3 separate regions of the Homo sapiens genome follow, and regions 2 and 3 are each linked to region 1. The links are contacts of gene promoters, found by promoter capture Hi-C in blood cells and fetal thymus (Javierre and others, 2016). All regions are on one chromosome and are shown on one strand. The core of a region is centred on a gene start or on the middle of the fragment in contact, and the rest is flanking DNA. Distances in the headings are between cores, read along the strand shown. Region 1 holds the start of RBM6 (RNA binding motif protein 6). Region 2 overlaps BSN (bassoon presynaptic cytomatrix protein). Region 3 overlaps DAG1 (dystroglycan 1).

The links. The method cuts DNA at HindIII sites, captures the fragments that hold promoters and counts their contacts. A CHiCAGO score of 5 or more calls a contact.
Region 2: a contact is called between a fragment that was not itself captured here and the fragment with the promoter of RBM6 in region 1, in 2 of 17 cell types (M2 macrophages and M1 macrophages). The highest score is 5.2, in M2 macrophages.
Region 3: a fragment that was not itself captured here is called in contact with the fragment with the promoter of RBM6 in region 1 in 1 of 17 cell types (erythroblasts); the score reaches 6.0 in erythroblasts.

What each region holds. Positions count from the first base shown.
Region 1 is chr3:49,938,453-49,942,530 of GRCh38, forward strand. RBM6 (RNA binding motif protein 6) reads left to right here and starts at 1,698. Exons shown (of 21, transcript NM_005777.3): 1 at 1,698-1,773. RefSeq lists enhancers at 1,328-1,850, 1,559-1,618, 1,649-1,698, 1,729-1,788, 1,851-2,372 and a silencer at 1,929-2,128. The HindIII fragment of the contact is 18,872 bases long and covers 1-4,078 here.
Region 2 is chr3:49,568,208-49,572,004 of GRCh38, forward strand. All of the region lies in intron 1 of BSN (bassoon presynaptic cytomatrix protein), which reads left to right. Among named protein-coding and RNA genes, the nearest start is that of BSN, 16 kb to the left of the region's middle. The HindIII fragment of the contact is 2,990 bases long and covers 162-3,151 here.
Region 3 is chr3:49,509,687-49,513,330 of GRCh38, forward strand. It overlaps DAG1 (dystroglycan 1), which reads left to right. Exons shown (of 3, transcript NM_004393.6): 2 at 733-1,133. The coding sequence starts at 849. Among named protein-coding and RNA genes, the nearest start is that of DAG1, 41 kb to the left of the region's middle. The HindIII fragment of the contact is 500 bases long and covers 1,215-1,714 here.

The DNA.
Region 1 (4,078 bases), core at 448-2,947:
AGATTACAGGCATGCGCCACCACGCCCGGGTAATTTTTGTATTTTTAGTAGAGACGGGGTTTCACCATCTTGGCCAGACTGGTCTTGAACTCCTGACCTCGTGATCCACCCGCCTCGGCCTCCCAAAGTGCTAGGATTACAAGCGTGAGGCACTGCGCCCGGCCTCTTTCTTTCTTTCCTTTTTTCTGAGACGGAGTCTTGCTCTATTGTCCAGGCTGGAGTGCAGTGACACAGTCTAGGCTCACTGCAATCTCTGCCTCCCGGGTTTAAGTGATTCTCCTGCCTCAGCCTCCCGAGTAGCTGGGATTACAGGCGCCTGCCACCAAGCCCGGGTAATTTTTTTTTTTTTTTGCGACAGTCTCCCTCTGTCGCCTAGGCTGGAGTGCAGTGGCGCTATCTCGACTCACTGCAAGCTCCGCCTCCCGGGTTCACGTCATTCTCCTGCCTCAGCCTCCTGAGTAGCTGGGACTACAGGTGCCCGCCACCACGCTCCACTAATTTTTTGTGTTTTTAGTAGAGACAGGGTTTCATCGTGTTAGCCAGGATGGTCTTGATCTCCTGACCTCGTGATCCACCCGCCTCGGCCTCCCACAGTGCTGGGATTACAGTCGTGAGCCACTGCGCCCAACTTCTTTCTTTCTTTCTTTCTTTTGAGACGGAGTCTTGCGCTGTTGCCAGGCAACAGTGCAGTGGCGCGATCTCGGCTCACTGCAACCTGTGCTTCCCGGGTTCAAGCAATTCTCTGCCTCAGCCTCCTGAGTAGCTGGGATTACAGGCATGCGCCACCACGCCTGGCTACTTTTTGTATTTTTAGTAGCGATGGGGTTTCACTATCTTGGCCAGGCTGGTCTTGAACTCCTGACCTCGTGATCCACCCACCTCGGCCTCCCAAAGTGCTAGGATTACAAGCATGAGCCACTGCGCCCGGCCTTTTTCTTTCTTTCTTTTTTTCTGAGGTGGAGTCTTGCTCTATTGTCCAGGCTGGAGTGCAGTGGCACAGTGTCGGCTCACTGCAACCTCTGCCTCTGCCTCCCGGGTTTAAGTGATTCTCCTGCCTCAGCCTCCCGAGTAGCTGGGATTACAGGCACCTGCCACCAAGCCCGGGTAATTTTTGTATTTTTGGTAGAGATGGGGTTTCACCATGTTGGCCAGGCTGGTCTAGAACTCCTGACCTCAGGTGGTCCACTCGCCGCGGCCTACCAAAGTGCTGGGATTACAGGCGTGAGCCACCGCGCCCCGCCAACCAGCTGGAGATGGCTTAAACTTACTCCCGAAGAAGCTCCCTTCCATTTCTCTCACACTAACGGACAATAAGGAGGCCTCGAGCTAGGCAGGCCAGGGCCGTACCCGAGCTGCTGGCAGGGAGCAAACCTCAGGAAAGTCAAGCCACCAAAAAACTGTAAGCCTCAATCAACTGAGAGGAAAGCACAAGAGGACCAGGTGTCACAGGGCAGAGGCCAAACCACAACTCCCAGCAGGTCACGCGGAGTAGGGCGGGTAAGCGCGCCTTCTTATTGGATGGCGATGGACAGCGTGCTCTTACGACCCACCCCAGAAGGCAAGTCCCCTGCGCGCGGGGCACGGCGGGAGTAAGAGTCTGCGGGACCGGCAGCTGTACTTCATCTCCCAGCGGGCCGAGCGCTGAAGGCAGCGGCGCGGCGCCTTTGTGGTAGCAGTGGCCCCGCGCGGAGGAAGTTCCGGTGTCCGCGGCGCTGGGTCGGTGGCGGAGGCTGAGGAGAAGGAGGAGCGGGCCGTGGAGGCTTCGCCGCCTAGGTAAGGGCCCGGGACTGGAGGGGAGGCGTGCCAGAGCCTGCCAGGGAATAGCCAGCAGACAGGCCCGCTCTAGACATCGCAGGCCCGCGCAGCCTGAAAGCTGTGGCTTCAGTGTCGCGGGGCGGCTGCGGCCTCGCTCGGGAAGAAGACCAAGCAACGGTGAGATGAGGGAGGCGCCGCCCGTGGCAGGAACGCCCCGGAACCGTCGCGGGCCTGGGGCGGGGCCCGGCGCGGCAGTAGATTACCGGTCCCGCCGCGGAGCGGCCAGCTGTGAGGCTGGGGCCGGCGCGTGGTTGCGGCTCTGTGCTCCTACTCTTCGGAGCTGTAAGCGGGCTGTTCTTGCGGTTTTCCTGTTTCAGATCCAATTCTGTGGCATCACTAGGAAGGGAGCTCTTGTGCTTAGCACGTAGCCTCGTCCTCAGACTTGGACAGACACAAGGGAGGCTCCGCTGGACCGGAGGGCACAAGAGCTCCGAGCCCGGTCGTCGGGGCGGTAGAACCTGGAAGCGGGAGAGTGGTCTGGTGGGTTCTGCGCCCGTTAGGCAATGAAGGAGAAGGATGTTTTATCGTATTCACGCTTTAGATTCCATTAGCGGTGTAAATAGATGTTTTTCTCTTTATTTTAGAATTGACGTTAGGCGAATGGGTTCAACTTTGGGAATGCCTTTTTTTTTTTTTTTTTTTTGAAGGAAGGGCCCTGTTTCGTAGGGTACATAAACCGTGAGCGTAATTGTATTTTTTGCATATTCCAGGTTTGCTTGTGAAGGTCAGAGTAGCCGGATTTAAGTGAAGGAGTTCAGTAGACATGCAGACATGGTCACCTGGTTCATTTTCTGAACCCTGGATTGTGCCCTCGGCTTGCTAGTTTCCACCTTCCTATTGAGAAATGCCACCAGCGTGAATGATTTAAATATGTCACCATTACTGAATTTGTGAGGTCTCTAACGAGAGGTGTCAAGAGCTGGTGCGTGATGGTAGGACTGGCAGTGAAGAAAGTAACTAAATAATATGTTACCATTTTGGTGAAACACAAAAGTTGAATTTGAACCTTGTCTCAGAAACTAGCATCTAACTAGATACCTAACCTGCAGGACAGGTCCCAGGTCTCTCTGGATAGTTGTAGCACCTTTCCTTATAGAATTCTATTACCAGGCCGAGCCTGGTGGCTCACACCTGTAATCCCAGCACTTTGGGAGGCTGAGGTGGGGAGTTCGAGACCAGCCTGACTAACATGGAGAAACCGCGTCTCTACTAAAAGTACAAAATTAGCCGGGCATGGTGGCACATGCCTGTAATCCCAGCTACTTGGGAGGCTGAGGCAGGAGAATCGCTTGAACCTGGGAGGCGGAGGTTGCGGTGAGCTGAGATTGCTCCATTGCACTCCAGCCTGGGCCACAAGAGTGAAACTCTGTCTCAAAAAAAAAAAAAAAAAAAAAAAAAAAAAACCCGCAAAACTCAACAAAAACCAACATAGTAGAGGCAGCGTTTCGCCTTATGCCCAGCTAATTTTTTGTATTTTTTTAGTAGAGGCGGAGTTTCGCTATGTTGGCCAGGCTGGTCTTGAACTACTGACCTCAGGTGATCCACCTGCCTTGGCCTCCCAAAGTGCTGGGATTACAGGCGTGAGCCACCGTGCCCGGCCCTGTTATAGTATTTCTAAAACAAATTGTGAGCCTGGGCAACATCGCAAAACCCTGTCTCTACAAAAAATACAAAAAAAAAAAATTAGCCAGGCGTGGTGGCATGCTCCTGTTAGCCCTAACTACTCAGGAGGCTGAGATGGAAAAATCGCTTGAGCCGGGGAGGTAGAGGTTGTAGTAAGGGGAGATAGTGCCACTGCACTCCAACCTGGGCCACAGAACAAGACTGTCTCAAAAAAAAAAAAATCAATTAAATAAATTGTGGTAAATATATATTTTTATGTATGTTTATGTATATTTTAACAAAATTTGCTCTTTAAACCATTGTTAAGTATACAATTCAGCCAGGCACGGTGGCTCACGCCTGTAATCCCAGCACTTTGGGACGCCGAGGTGGGCGGATCACGAGGTCAGGAGATCGAGACCATCCTGGCTAACACGGTGAAACCCCATCTCTACTAAAAATACAAAAAATGAGCCGTGCGTGGTGGTGGGCGCCTGTAGTCCCAGGTACTCAGGAGGCTGAGGCAGGAGAATGGTGTGAACCCGAGAGGCGGAGCTTGCAGTGAGCCGAGATTGCGCCACTGCACTCCAGCCTGGGCAACAGAGCGAGACTCCGAGACTCCATCTCAAAAAAAAAAAAAAAAAGTATACAATTCAATGGT
Region 2 (3,797 bases), core at 407-2,906, 370 kb before region 1:
AAATACAGTCTGCCACAGCTGGAAAAAATATATTCTGCCTCTAGTTGGAGGAACTGCAAAGACACATGGCAGAGAACAGAAATCGATGGAAAGTAAAGAATTGAAAACAACAATGGCATATACCGTACTTTTTTAAAATTTAATTTTTAAAAATTATATAAAGCTTTCCTATGATTCCAAATAAAACAAGATATATTGAGAGAAGTCTAATTCCATCTTGTTCCCTCTACTTTATTCTCTTTGCCTTTCTGATAAGAAACAGTTTTTATCAGATTTTTCCCACTGTTTCTTTTTGCAAATTTAAGGGAAAAATATATTTGTTTACCTTTCTTTTTTATGTAAAAGGTAGCAGACTCTAAGTACTCTTCTGTACTTTGCTTTTTTCCATGTAATCAATCTTGAAGATCACCCTGTAGCAGAATATAGAAATCCTCCTGATTCCTTTTTGCATCTGCACTGTGCCTCACCATGTGGATATGCCATGGTTTATCTATGGACATTGGGCTGTGTCCAGTCTTTTGCTCTTACAAAAAGAAGCACAGTGAGGAATCTGGAAAATGTGGCATTTTGTAATTTTACCAGTGTGTCTGTGCGATAGTTTCCTAGAAGTAGGATTGCTGAAGCAAAATGGTAAATGTATAAGTTGTTTTTCTCTGTGTTGCTAAGACTGAGAGCCAAAGGCAGAAGCAATAATATTCAGGCATGAGAGGATGATCATGGTGGGGTGCGGGGTTTTGCAGGACAGGGAGGTGGGAAGGGGCTGAGTAGTAAGAGTGATGAAAAGTGCTCAACTTCTGAATATATTCTGGAAATTGAGCCAGAAGGATTGCTGAATGGTTGGCTGTGAAGAGTTGAAGAGAGGAGTCAGGAGGAGCTCTGAGTTTTGGCCTGGGCATCTGGTGTACACAGGGAGGAGGAGGAATGGGCCTAGACCAGGAGTTTGTTCTTGGACAAGTTGTTTTTTAGAGGCACCCAAGTGAGATGTTAGGTAGGCAGCTGGGTATTCAAGTCTGGGTTGGAAAAATAAAGTAGCACTTCACCTGCAAGTGCTTTAATATTAATGCCACCTGGTTCCTACAAGTACCCTGAAAAAGAGATAAGGGAGAGGAGGAAATTGAGGCAATACTAGGGTTCCAAGAGAGTGAATCAAGTGCATTCAATTAAACAAATATTTACCTTATCAAATGAAACATTGGAAATGAAAGCACTCAGCATGAGGCCTGCCATTAAGTGCCTACTAGTTGATGTCAGGTTCCATGCCCAGGGCTGAGGATAGAAAGATGAACAGGTAGATTATGCCCTTATTTATTACCCTAGATCATGTTTGAGTTAAACTTGATTGAGGGTATAGTTCCTGACCTCTGGGAGCTCTGACTCAGTGGGGGACGCTTGGAGGGCTCAGGGGCCTACTGTCGTCCATCCTCATCTTCACAGACAGCTGCTAAAACAGATTATAGAATTTAAGGCTCAGACTGGGCAGTTCACTTGAAAGGCCTGGCTCATTCTATTGGCTCTAGAATCTGCAGCTAGTCAGAGATGAAGCTCAGGCCACCAGAGCCACAGAGAAAAGTCTCTCACTATAGGAAAAGTGTCACTTTGACTCTTTAGCCCTCACTCCTGTTCAGTAAACTTCATGAAGCCAGGTGGAGGGTGTTGGCCTTCAGCTGGAGTGACAGTCGTGTGGGACAGGCGCCCCTTGACAGATTTTGAGTATTGGGAAGAGGGCAGGAGGGAGGGAGTTCCAGGTCTGGGGCTGCTGCTCTGGGGTTGTGATTTGCTGTTGGGCAGCTGAGCAGAGATATCATAATTTGACTTTGGGATGTATATTTCTCTGGACTTAGGGATCAGGATGCAGGCTGTAGCACACGAAGCTGGCTCGGAAGCCAACAGACTGGAATAGGACTTTCCCAATGGCCAAGCACTCATCTCTGCTCCCCTCCTGTGCTGAAAGCACTTTTTGCAAATGATGGTACTTAGCACTGATTGCCTGGCAGCCTAAGATACACCACCCATAGAGCAGAGTCAGAAGGGGGTTTCCTGCCAGGGCACTTTTGGGGAGCTATGATGCAGGCTAAGCCAGTGGAAGAAAGGGAGGAAGGGAGCAGACAGAACAGGGAGGCTTGATCTGGTGCTCCCAACAGACCCGGTTTGCCACTTTGCCTGCCTCCACTCCGCCCCTTCCTCCCCAGCTTTATTAGGGTGAGTGTTGGAGCCCACCCAAGGGTCCATGCTGTCATTGGTACTTTGCACCTACATGGCCATTCTGTTGTTTACTTTGGTTTGAGCCGTGGAAACAGAGACTGAAGAGCAGCAGGCACCAGCCTCTGTGCTGTCCCTACTCAGGCCCCCAGTTGGGGGTGAGGAGCCCTGGGAAGACCATCCAAAGTTCCAGGGGCAGACGCCAGAGCTACACAATCACCTCCTTTTCTAGATAGTAAGAAACAAAGAAAAACCTCTACACCCCTGAGTGTTGAGTGAGGAAAGCAAACATGTTCTCCCTGTATTCAAATTAGCCAGAGAGCCTGGTGGGGACTCTTGGGGGCAACACCTTCCCTTCCAATGCCAAGGCAATACCTCCCCTTCCAGGCTCACTCCTCTGAGCCTGCCTGGTAGTGCAAATAACTTGTTTTCAGAGGCAAGAAGAAAGAGGAAACTAGAAGTTTTGCCTTTTTGGAAAGCATCCTGTGCTACCTGCAGTCCCACATGAACACTGACTCTGGGGCTCCCAGGCCTGTGAAATGGAGTGGAAGTGACCCCAGGAGTACCAGAGCTGAGCCTTCCAGCAAAGTTTGGCAGGGAATGTGGGCCTCAGTCACACTCCTTCAGCTTCCTTTTCCTTAGTCCCTACTAGTGGCTCAGGAAAAAACAAGAAGTTCAGATAGCGACAGGCATTGCTTTTGAAAAGATAGTAACAGTACTTAGTAGTAACTGAGGAATTTTAAAAATACACTGTGCTTTTTTTTTAATTCTGTGTAGCTCTGGCCAATAGAGAGTTAAGAGCACTGGTGGGATGGAAATACTAATTCCAGAGAGGTAGTGGGCATTTCCAAGCATCCCACAGCAAGTCAGGGGCAGGACAGGGAAGAGGAGCCTGGGTTTCCTAGCTCCAGCCTCTGCTTGGTGAATCTCCCTGGCTACTTTGGAATAAGAAAGCTTTCATGTGTCCAGTGAAGGGTCAGGGCATCCAGTGGGTAAGAATGGCATACTTCCTGCCCCTGTTGCAGGGCACAGGCCTCTGGGTAGAGTAGACTGGGGTTGGGGAGACGGGGGTGGGCAGCTTCAAGTAGCTTTGGGGTATAAGGCTCCAGGGCCAGAAGAGCCCAGGACTCATAGGATGGAGTTTGGTGGCAAAGCCTCTGCCACAGTGAGACTACTTGGAACAGCCCACTTTGGTAGTGCACTCACTCTGAGCCAGGCCCCAGAGGCCTCAGGGTATAGTAGGGAATGAGGACAGAGATTGTTCATCCCTTTCTTCCTCCAACTGCCATGGACATGGGGGATAACTCTGTAAACAAGCCGACATGTTCTAGATGCATATGGAGCACACAGCCATCAGGAGTAAGACCCACACCATGTAAGTGATTCTGGTAACGTGTACTGATTATTATTCGATGGCATGCAGTGGGGGTGGGTTTAGGCATAAGGGATAGAGGTAGCAACACCAACTCCCCATACCCCAATAAATTAGCTTTTCCAGAGACCCTGCTTTATCCTCAGAGAAGGCTTTGCTCCCCAGAGCACATATCATTTTGAGAATATTGTTTCTTTGTCCATTCATTCAACAAGCATTTAGCCCC
Region 3 (3,644 bases), core at 215-2,714, 430 kb before region 1:
AAAAGCAGATTAAATTAATTTCAATCATATATTTTACTTAATATTTTATTGTTTTTTTTTGAGGTCGAGTCTCACTCTGTCACCCAGGCTGGAGTGCAGTGGTGCAATCTCGGCTCACTGCAACCTCCACCTCCCGGGTTCAAGTGATTCTCTTGCCTCAGCTTCCTCAGTAGCTGGGATTACAGGCACCCACCACCATGCCCGGCTAATTTTCATATTTTTAGTAGAGATGGGATTTTACCATGTTGGCCAGGCTGGTTTCAAACTCCTTACCTCAAGTCATCCACCCACCCTAGTCTCCCAAGATGCCAGGATCATAGGCGTGAGCCACGGTGCCCGTCTTGTTTAATACATTTCTTTATTATTTATTCTTTGTTAATACTTATTGTTTACTTAATATATTTTATTGAATGTATCTGACTGTATTCAAAATATTACTAATACATATCATTTCAGTTTGCAATCAATATTTTAAAAGTATTAATGAGGCATTTTACATTCATTTTTTATGAAGTTTTCAAAATCCAGTGTATATTTTATATTTAATGGATCAGCTACATTTCCAGTGCTAAGGAGTTGCACGAAACTGTTGGTTTCTGTATAAGAGACCATGGGGGTAAGAGGCTTGATCCAACTCGGGGTAGATGTTTTTGACAGTAACTCCTGGAGGATAGTATGTGACTGAACCACTGGAATTGCTCAAGTCTAAACCTGCTTTTCTTTTTTTTTCAGGCTCTGTGTGCTCCGGGATGGAGCAGGTGTGCAGAGGGTGAGAACCCAGCTCTGGGACCAAGTCACTTGCTTCCTTACTTAGCAAGACTATCGACTTGAGCAAACTTGGACCTGGGATGAGGATGTCTGTGGGCCTCTCGCTGCTGCTGCCCCTCTCGGGGAGGACCTTTCTCCTCCTGCTCTCTGTGGTTATGGCTCAGTCCCACTGGCCCAGTGAACCCTCAGAGGCTGTCAGGGACTGGGAAAACCAGCTTGAGGCATCCATGCACTCAGTGCTCTCAGACCTCCACGAGGCTGTTCCCACAGTGGTTGGCATTCCTGATGGCACGGCTGTCGTCGGGCGCTCATTTCGAGTGACCATTCCAACAGATTTGATTGCCTCCAGTGGAGATATCATCAAGGTGAGACTGGATATAAAGCATAAATGAGGAAGAGTTCTCATTTTCCATTTTAGTTTTGGTGGCTTTTCCTTTTCAAGTCTAAGCTTCACCAATTCTGAGCTCAGTTCTTCCAGTACCCCCTTAGAAGAGGGACAGCCACTGATGTTCATAAGAGAATCCCTATATACTCAGAATAGCATCCTAAACTGTATTCTTGTTCCTATTCTGAGGGCATCACCATGTAATAGCCTTTACTCTGGAAGTTCTACTGAACACTGATTTAGGGATTTGTTGGAAAGGTCTGTCACGTGTATAGGGAAAGGTTACCTTTAATAAAACACAGAGTTAAACCCCAAAAAATAGGACTTTTATGCTTTGAACTTACTTTTTAAAATAAGATATAAATAAATATAGGAGTTCTGCTCTGATTTGCTGATGTATGTTGGCTAATGTAATTGATCACTTAAGAACCAAAATTAGTACCCAAACTTCAGCCTTGCCCCATATCCTTTGGAGAAGCCATCCAGAGAACAATGGAATCTGAGGCCCGTGTAGAGAAGAGTGTCTTGGTTGACCCAGGATAGAAATCAGGTGAAATAGGAAGCTTTTGTGTGATGAAGCACCATCTCTCTGTCTGAGTTTGTGGAACCATGGAATTTCCCCTAGATCTTAAATGAGTTTGTTTCATGGACAGGTGGGTGGGATGTACCCCTCAAGTTATGAACATCTTCTAGAGCAGAAGTCAGCACACTTCACCCAAGCTGGAGTGCACTGGCATGATCATGTCTCACTGTAGCCTTGACCTCCCAGGCTCAAGTGATCCTCCCACCTCAGCCTCCCAAGTAGCTGGGACTATAAGCACATATCAGCACACCTGGCTAATTTTTGTACTTTTTGTAGAGATAGGGTTTTGTCATGTTGCTCAAGCTAGTCTTGAACTCCTGAGCTCAAGCCATCTTCCTGCCTTGGCCTCCCAAAGTGCTGGGATTGCAGGCATGCACCACTGCACCAAGCTCCAGGCAGTAAATATTTTAGGCTTTGCAGGCCATATGGTTTCTGTCAGAACTCCTCGACTCTGCCTGTGTAGTGTTAAAGTAGCCTTTACAATATATAAATCAATGGGCAATAAAACTTTACGGTGGATACTTTTTCTTTTTTAATTTTTTACACTTATAGTCCCATTCTGACTTGAAACAGATTTTTGAATTTCATATGTCAAGAAAGAAATATTCTTTTACAATTTTTTTTTTTGAGGCAGGGTCTTGCTCTGTTGTTCAGGCTGGAGTGCAGTGGTACAGCCATGGCTCTCTGCAGCCTTAACCTCCCAGGCTTAAGCCTTCTTCCCTCTTCAGCCTCCCAAGTAGCTGGGACTACAGGTGTGCACCACCACACCCAGCTAATTTATTTATTTATTTATTTTTGAGACAGAGTTTCGCTCTTGTCGCCCAGGCTGGAGTGCAATGGCACAATCTTGGCTCACTGCAACCTCCGCCTCCTGGGTTCAAGTGATTCTCCTGCCTCAGCCTCCTCAGTAGCTAGGATTACAGGCGCACGTCACCACGCCCAGCTAATTTTTAAATTTTAATTTATTTTAATTAATTAATTAATTTTGAGATGAAGTCTCTCTCTGTCACCCAAGCTGGAATGCAATGACACAATCTCAGCTCACTGCAACCTCCATCTCCCAGATTCAAGTGATTCTCCTGCCTCAGCCTCCCAAGTAGCTGGGATTACAGGTGCGCACCACCATGCCCGGCTAATTTTTGTATTTTTAGTACTGACGGGGTTTCACCATGTTGGCCAGGCTGGTCTCAAACTCCTTATCTCGGGTGATCTGTCTGCCTCAGCCTCGCAACACCCAGCTAATTAAAAAAAAATTTTTTTTTAGTTTGGGCGTGATGACTTACACCTGTAATCCTAGCACTTTGGGAGGCTGAGGGAGGCAGATTGCTTGAGCCCAGGAGTTTGAGACCAGCCTGGGCAACATGGTGAAACCCCAACTCTACAAAAAATACAAAAATTAGTTACAAAAAATTTTTTTTAGATAGGGTCTTACTCTGTCTGCCAGGCTGGTCTCAAACTTCTGGTTCCTGCCCTACAGCATTCCTTCTCTAGAGGTGTGGCCTACATGTGAACTAAAAGTATTCTGAGACCTATACTTTGTTAGGTATTTTCTGTATGATCTCTGCATTCAGACTTCTACATACATTTAGTGCTCTGGCTTTCTGTTGGTGTGTTTAAACCACCAAAACAGTGGTTTAACTCAACCAGCTTGTTTTACTCAACATTTTTTGGCCAGGAATTCAGAGATAAGGAACCTTATCTCTGTTTCACATGGTACTAGGTAGAGTGGCTCACCTGGGGCTGGGGAATTCACTTCTAAGTTGGCTCATTCATGGCTGGCAAGTTGATGCTGCCTGTTGACAGGGAGCTTAGCTGGGGCTGTTGGTCAGTGTCCTTGATTCCTCTTCATGTAGACCTCTCCATGGGCTGCTTAGGTGTCCTCAAAGCACGATAGATGGATTTTAAGAT